2 separate regions of the Homo sapiens genome follow, and region 1 is linked to region 2. Evidence: promoter capture Hi-C in human tissues and cell types (Jung and others, 2019). All regions are on one chromosome and are shown on one strand. Each heading gives the region's core, a stretch centred on a gene start or on the middle of the fragment in contact. The rest is flanking DNA. Distances are from core to core; before and after follow the strand shown. Region 1 overlaps WNT7A (Wnt family member 7A). Region 2 holds the start of WNT7A (Wnt family member 7A).

Region 1 (4,071 bases), core at 1,551-4,050, 38 kb before region 2:
TTGCATATTGATTACATATTGAAATGATATGTAATCAATATCAGATAGATATTTGGGATATCTTAGATGAAATAAAATATCTTATTAAATTTAATGTCACCTCTTACCTTTTTGATGTAGCAACTAGCAAATGTCATATGACCCATGTGTTTGGTATTATGTTTCTACTGGACAGTGCTGGTTGAAATCCTTGCTGCTCAAGGTGTGGTTCCTGGACCAACCAGCACCATCCACATCACCTGGAAACTTGTCGGAAATGCAGAATCTCAGGCCCTGCCCCAGACCCACACATGGAACCGGGAGCTGCATTTCCACACATTCCCCAGGTGAATTTTGAGAAGCTGTGAAGAGCCTGAGGCTGGGGGTCTCAGAGGGGAGCCCAGATAGGGGGTGGGAGCACATGGCCTGAAGCCCAGCCCGTAACAGGTGAAATATTAAGTCATTGATGCCTTTGGCCCTTAGTCATACCCTCAGCCCATGGCGTCCTTTAAACCTAACCCTCACCAGGAAGTGCACACAGCTTTTAAGAAGAAAAGGGCAACTTTGCAAGGGATTCAGCTCTCTGGCTTAGCAATGAACGCTATCAGGGAATACACCAGGAGCTGGTCCATCTGTGACTTTTTAAAGCCTGGGAAATAATCTCAGAAAACAACTGAAAAATACATCTGTGTGTTTTAAAAACAAACAAACAAAACTTAACCGACCCCTTCCCCACTCTACCACCAAATTCCTCCTTCTTTTTCTCTCTGAAAACTTGGCCAACAAGCATTAAATGGCACTAAATATAGAAATGGTGAGCAAGTAAATCACTCAGAGGTGCCACATGTTGCCCAGGGCCTGTTTTACAGTTGAGTTGTAAACCATTGAGAGCGTGGATCTGTAATTAAAATGCTGACAGCCTCCCAACTGCCAAGCAGCCAGGAGGGAGCAGGGCTGGGAACCAGCAAGCAGGGGTGCAGGGAGGGTGGTGCCCTTCCTAACGCTGATCAGCCCGGGTTCAATGTCCTCCGCAGGCTTCCAAGATGCAGACAAACCCTTCTCTCACAGGGAAGCAGGGCCCTGCACTCCCCACTCTCTAACACATCTCTCTGTGACCTCCTCTCCTCCCTGACAGCCACACTGGCCTCTTTGCCTCTGGGCTCTGACCTTGCAATTCCCTCTGACTCAAATGCAATTCCCCAGATGGCTCATTTCCTCACTTCCTGTTCAGAACTTACCTTCTCCAGGAGGCCTCTCCTGATCGCCTAAAATAAAATGCCCCTGCTCCTGACATCTGTGCCCTCTCATCCTGCTTTGTTTGTTCATCATAGCATTTATAACTCTCTGACAACAGATTCCATATATATATTCTATTATTTGTTTGTTGTCTCCCTTCCCCCGGAATGTCAGCTCCATAAAGGCAAGTACCATGTCTAATCCCAGAGCCTAAAACAGTACCAGACGCATAAATAGGTGCTTAATAAATATTTGTTGAATGAATGAATGAACGAATGCATGGATTTCCATCCTTTCTTTCAGCTGATCTGGTGATCTCACTGGGAAAATGTCCAACTTTCCAGCAGTGAGCTCAGCTTTTTGCTCATCCATTCACCCAACCATCCTTCCAAATAGCTATTCATTCATCCATCCATCCATCCATCCATCCATCCATCCACCCATTCAGCCATCCATCTATCCTACTACCCAAACATCCATCCAACCATCTTCTAAGATCTGTCCGTTTAACCATCCATCCATCTATTCATTCATATTCCATTCATTCAACCAGCCTTCCCATTACTATCTATCTAGCAAATATCCATCCATCCATCTATCCATTTGTGCATGCATGCATGCATCCATCCATCCATCTATATATCCATCCATTCATCCTACCACTCAGCCATGCACTCATCCAAACCAATCCCCAAATGGTTAGAGCTCCTATCCTGGGGTCCCATAGTCCCCTACACACTCCTCTACCAAATCCAGTTCATGTTGTCATATTTACATGCAGTAATTCACTCTTCTCCTTCTGTCATTAGAATGTAATCCCCCTCAAATTCAAAAATGGTATATTATTTATCTCAGACCTCAGTGCCTAAAACAGAGCTGGCATATAGGGATTCGGCTCTCTGGCTTAGAAATGAACACAATCAGGGAATACACCAGGGGCTGGCCTCCTCTAACTTTTTAAAGGCTGGGAAATAATCTCAGGCGTCAGTGAATGGTTGCTGAATGAATATGATTTTCCTTTTCCCTTATTTACTTGTTCAGCGTTTCCCACTAGACTAAGCTTCCTGATGGCAGGAACCAGTTTTTAGTGATCTGTTCGTCTCTAAAACGTCGCACCTAAGGCAAAGAAGACACTCTATAAATTCTTAATGAATGAATAAGTGGATGAATACACAAAAGAGAGGAAGTAGAGCAAGAATGCAGCCTCTGGAGCTGGACTGCCTGAGTTCATATCCTGGCTCTTTGCTTATCAACTGTATGACTTTGGGCGAGTCGCTGAACCGCTCTGTGCCTCAGTTTCCTCATTTGTAAAAGGGAGACAATGCCAGGCTGATCTCATGGAGTTCTTATGAGAATTTTAGGAATTCATGCGTATGAAGTAATTAGAACAGTGCCTGGAGTAAGACAAAAGCTGTACAGGTATAAAATATTCATGTGCTGCTGGCCCACTGGAACAAATATCGAAGGCACAGAGGGGAAAAGGTGGGAGGGAAGCTTCTGTCTGGGCCTGTGCCGTTCCCACAGGAGGCCTTCTACAGCAGGCACTCTAACTTTTCCCAGCCACACTGGGATCACTTGGCAAAGTACCAATATTATATCAGGTGGCCATGAGTGCTACACAGAAAAACAAAACGTGGAAGGGAACAGGAAGCAGCGAGACAGACTGGAGGGTGAGTTCAAATATGGTGGTCAGGAAAGGCCTCCTTGAGAGGTGATATTTGAGAAAAGACTTGAGGAGGTGAGAGGGTAAGTGTCTGCAGGGAGAGCATTCCAGGCAGAGGGAACAGTAAGTGCAAGGGACCTGGGGCAGGGACATACCCAGTGTGTGTGAGGAGCCACAGGGAGACCGCTGCAGGGGGACAGAGAGAGCGAAGGGGAAGGAGACAGGGGTGAGGGAGGGGCCTGTGAGCCACCGTGAAGGCTTCTGTGTCTACTCTGGGTGAGATGGGAGCCATGGTGAGATTATAAGTGAGGGAGGCAGAGTTTAACTGACATTTGAAAAGCCTGCAGGGGCCCAAGTTAGTAGGCTGGTGTGTTCCTACAGGGAAGAGACGCTGATGGATAAGACCCTGGGGTAAGGGGACTGTCGTGCCACTGCAGGGGAGAGATGCTGGTGGATAGGACTCTGGGGTAAGGGAATTGTTTTGCTACTGCAGGGAAGAGATACTGGTGGGTAGAAACCTGGGGTAAGGGGACCGTTGTGCCACTGCAAGGAAGAGATGCTGGTGGATAGGACCCTGGGGCAAGGGGACAATTGTGCAATGTCAGGGAAGAGATGCTGGTGAATAGGACTCTGGGGCAGGGGACTGTTGTGTCACTGTAGGGAAGAGAGGCTGGTGGCTTGGATCATGAGCTCGGGGGTATAAGTTATTTGGTGACAGACTCTGGACAGATGTTGTAGGTAGAACTGACATGTTGGATGTGGGGTGTGAAAGAAAGAAAAGTGTCATGGCCAAGGCCAGGGCCAGGGTTTGGCTTACACAACTGGAAGGATGCAGATGCTATTTACTGAACCAGGGGATGGAGACAAAGGCACCAGCAAGTTTGTGGGAGAAAGATCAGGAGTTAGGTTGTGGTAGACGAGTGCTCATGGGCCAGTAGACATCCTGGAGCAGGGAGGCAGGATGGCAGCTGGATGCACAGGACTTGTGTTCGGGAGGCAGGTCTGGGCTGGAGACTGGACTTTATGGACAACTTTAAAGGTCCTGGAATGTGGTGTGTACTTGGGTATGTGTGGCATGGGGCTGAAAGGACAAGGGCAGAGGCCCCCTCTGGAAGTGGCTGCTCACAAGGACTGAAAGACCTAGGTGGACATCACCTATTTTGGATAAAGGAGGACCAGCGTGGCCTTGCCAT
Region 2 (4,111 bases), core at 1,303-3,802:
ATAGGTTGGCATACTGGGGCCAAAAATTCATAGGTGCAATAGACTAGCCCCTAAGGGTCTGGCCTAGGTTCTCATCCAAGCTTCCTTCACTTATTAGTTGTGCGATCTTAGGCAAGTTTCCTTCCCTCTGCACTTCAGTTTCTCCATGGCTAAATTAGGGTATTGATAACTAGTCCCCACCTCATTGGCTGCTGTGAAAATCAAATGTGCTAGAACATGGAAAGTGCTTAGAAGGTGCCAGGCACATAGTGAGTGCCCCATAAATGTGGTGGTGGTGTTGTAATTATCATTATCGTTATCGGATCTGATTGTTGCAATAGGCTAGTGCGGAGTCACCTGAACTATCCGAGCAAAATAAGAATACCGCAGATGCCCCACCATCAGCCAGAAGCGGGTAGAGCCGTCACGTCTGGGGAAATGGAAAAACCTTTTAGGGACGTTGAGACTTCACCCCTCATGTCCACTATACAGATGAGTAGCCCGAGGCGCAGGGAGCAGCAGGGCCTGGCCCGAAGTCACCTGCAACTCCCACCTCTCCGACCTGGACCTCTCCCTACCCCAGAGGGCAGCTTGGGGCGGAAAGCCAGCGCCCTGCAGGACTCCCTCCCTCCCTCCCTGCCGGGCAGCTGGGCCCCCGCAGGGCCAATCCGGGGAGGCCGCGGCGCCGGCGGGAGGGCGGCCCGCGGGCGGGCGGGGCGGCCAGGGGAGGTTATTTTCTGCTGTTTTCCCTTTCTGTCTCCCCCGCCACCCGTGTCCCTCCTCCCCGTTTCTAATTAAAAAGGAGATAAAGCCGCACGCGGCCCGAGTCAATCGGCTCGAGCCAATCGGCCCTACTGGCTTCCTGGATGCTGAATGTGCGCGGGGCGGCGGGGCGCGGGCCAAGATGAAGATTAAAGCAGGGGAAAAAAAGGAAAGCCACCCAGACGCGGGCGAATCAATAACACTTAAAACACACCGGCAGGCTGGCGGTACTGGCGCGAGCCCCGCAGCCGCCTCTCCGCCGCTGGTCGGGCTGGCGGCCCCTGGTCGGCTCTGCACGCACCTGCTAGCGGCCGCGGCCGGACAACTTGCGAAATCCCCGCTCCAGAGACGTGGACTGGGGAAGTGACGGGGTAGGGGGGTAGTAGTGACAAAACACAAAGGGTCTGCCACGCACATCCCCTCGCCGCAGCCCCTGCGGTCCACCCCTCCTCAAAAGGGATGGTAATGGGTTCACTGCTGGGGGCTGGAGGGGCAGGGTGTGTGAGACCTACCAAGCGGGCCCTTCAGCGCCAGAACCTCTATCCATGCCCAGATCCCCCCGCCCCCACACCGCTCCGAGCCTCACACGCGTTGTCTTAAGTACAAAGGGTGACCGGCTTTGCACAAGCAGCTCCAGGACGCGTCCCGAGCTGCCCCCTCCCACCTTCCAGCCAGAGCGCCCCCGAGCCCCACCTCCACAGAAACGCTAGGTGAAGCCGGAGGGCTGCTCGCGCGCCCGGCCGCCTCTGCTGCCCAGTTCCAGGGGGCGGGGTGTCCCGCCTCTCTCTAGCGCTTGTCTCCCTCTGTGTCTCAGACCGCCTCTCGTCCCACCTTTGTGTGTGTTTGTTGGGGGTGGGACGTGCTGTCCCCTTGGCCCGGGAAGGGGCTCTGGGAGTCTAAGGGCCCCTGGAAATTGGGTGGTGCCAAGGCTCCGAGCGGCGGTTTATGTTTTTGCCAGCGAATGTCCTTCCTCCTGGGTACCTGTTCCCTGTTTGCACGGACCGGCCCCGCCAGCCACCTGGGGACTGCCCAGTCTCTAGGAACGGCTGTGCCGCGCCTCCTGAGAGAGTTCGTCTCGGGCTCCGGGGACTGAGCTCCCCGAGATTGGCTGTGGTCCTGGCTTGATGTTCCTGCTAGACCTGCTGTCCCTATGCCCGGGTCCGAAGGGTCCCCGGGATGGGCTGAACCTTTGCAGCAGCTAGCCCTCCCCCAGAGTCCCTCAGGCTGGAGCGTCCCTACCGGCTGTCTCTGGTCCTGGGGGATTCCAGACTCAGACGTCCTCAGGATGGCCAGTCCCCCTGCCTATATCTCCTGGGGTGTCCTGCGGGGGGCCTTTGTGCGTCCACCGCTCCCACACCGCACCCACCCGGCCTCTCAGAGAAGCTGTGGAAGTTGGCCGGCAGAGGCTCGCAGGCGGCACACCTCCCTCCCCGGGCCGTGCCAACTTTGTCGAAACACGCGCGGAAAGGGCGCAGGCAGCCCTTACCCGATCCGGAGGTAGACCATGCCCAGGCTGAGAAAGAGGTGGCCCAGGCAGCGCCGCGCTTTCCGGTTCATAGTCCCGATTGGCCGCCGGGGCCGCGGGCCGGGCTGTGCTGATCCCGCGGGCCGGCCCCGGCGGGGCAATCAACATAGCCCGCCCGGGAGGCGCGAGCCGAGGCGTCCCCGGGGCCGTCTGTCGGTGCGCCCGTCCGCGCGCTCCGCGCCTGAGCCTCGCCAGGAGCACGGGAGCCACGGAGCGGGAGGAGGGAGGGAGGAGCGAGCGCGGCGTGGGGCGACGCCGGGCTGCGCGCGAGCGACCGGTGCAAGTGTGCGAGACGCGGGGAGTGCGGGGGCGCTGCTGCCTCCAGCCCCCGCCCCTCCCTCCTTTCCCCCGTCCCTCCCCCGCCCCCTCCCCCGCCCGCCTCCCCGGAGCGCCCGCCCAGCGCCCCTGCGCCCGCGGGACAGGGCCGCCTGCACAAGGCGCGCGCTCGCGCCTTTCCATGCGCGCTCCCGGGGGCCCCCTCCCTGCTCCGGGGTGCAGGTGGCAGGCTGGGGAGCACAGCCCGGTTGGAGGCGGTAGGAGCCCGCTCGCCCCCCACCCGTCACTAACTTGCAGATTGCAGGGCGAGTGGGCGTCCAGAGGCTGCCCTCGGGTGGAGTGGACCAGACTCGGCCGAGAGGCCTAGTGCCTTGGTCTGCTGCCCTGCTCCCTCCAGCCCGGAACAGGGAGCTGGGGCTGACAGGGCACACCCCAGTTCCCCAACCCCAGCTTCAGGGGAGGGCGCCCCCTTTCGCGGAGCGACGGGCTGACTGGCTCAGTGTATTTCTTCCCTACTCCCACCTATTCGAGAGTGGCGGCAGGGGGTGCCCAGGTTGGGCAGCCTCCTCTGGGATCCTGCTGTTAGCCGACAGACTGAGTCGGGCTGAGGCCCAGTTGCCCCGCGCGGAACAGCAGTGGGGCGCCTGAGCCGCGGGAGCGTGAGGGGCGCAGCTGGCCGCTCAGAGCGCGCTCGCGGCGTCACCAGGCGGACGCGGCGGGTGGTGCACCTCGGCCTCGCTCCCGGGAACAGAATGCTTTGAGTGCCCTGGCCGACCCGAGGGGGCTAACACCCTTCTTTGGTGTACACCTCATCCAGTGAGCTAGGGGGAGTCTAACCGTCCCTGGAAATTGGGTGGTGCCAAGACTCCGAGCGGCAGTTTATGTTTTTGCCAGCGAATGTCCATCCTCCGGGTACCTGTTCCCTGTTTGCACGGACCGGTCCCGCCTGCCACCTGGGGGTTGCCCAGTCTCTAGGAGCGGCTGCGCCTGCGCCTCCGGAGAGTGTTCCTCTCGGGCTCCAGGGACTGAGCTCCCTGGGAGTGGCTGTGGTCCTGGCTTGGTGTTCCTGCTGGACCTGCTGTCCCTATGCCCAGGTCTGGCAAATCTGAACTCAGGTTTCAGCTGAAGACACTGAGGCTCAAGGAGGTGAAGGTGTTTGCCCAGAGTCACCAGCTAGCGAGTGGCACAACCATATGGGAAACAAAGTATGCCCAACTGTAGTAACCTCCTGCACCCAGTCCTGACTATCCTTCAAGATTGCCTTTCTAAATTACACACACACACACACACACACACACCCGAAAGCCACCATTCAGGTATTCATTCATATTCCATATTCTGTGCCAACCACGATAGTGGGCACCGTGGACACAAGGAAGAAGAAAGGCAACAGTCTTTCTTCTTGGGGCCAGGAAGGAGACAGATGATAAGTGAACAAGAACAGAGTTGCAGATAGTAGACCATTAAGCAGGGTGATGGGAGAGGGAATACTGGGTGTTGGAGGGTTAATTTTAGATCTGAGGAGGTGGCATTTGAGGTGAGGCCTGAAGGACACAGCATCAGGGGTCC

The links. The method cuts DNA at HindIII sites, captures the fragments that hold promoters and counts their contacts. A contact is called where the count stands out against the background at its distance.
Region 1: a fragment that was not itself captured here is called in contact with the fragment with the promoter of WNT7A in region 2 in 2 of the 25 tissues and cell types used here (H1 embryonic stem cells and pancreas).

What each region holds. Positions count from the first base shown.
Region 1 is chr3:13,838,977-13,843,047 of GRCh38, forward strand. All of the region lies in intron 3 of WNT7A (Wnt family member 7A), which reads right to left. Among named protein-coding and RNA genes, the nearest start is that of WNT7A, 39 kb to the right of the region's middle. The HindIII fragment of the contact is 5,404 bases long and covers 99-4,071 here.
Region 2 is chr3:13,877,519-13,881,629 of GRCh38, forward strand. WNT7A (Wnt family member 7A) reads right to left here and starts at 2,553. Exons shown (of 4, transcript NM_004625.4): 1 at 2,228-2,553. The coding sequence starts at 2,298. RefSeq lists enhancers at 1,026-1,527, 2,030-2,531. The HindIII fragment of the contact is 9,172 bases long and covers 1-4,111 here.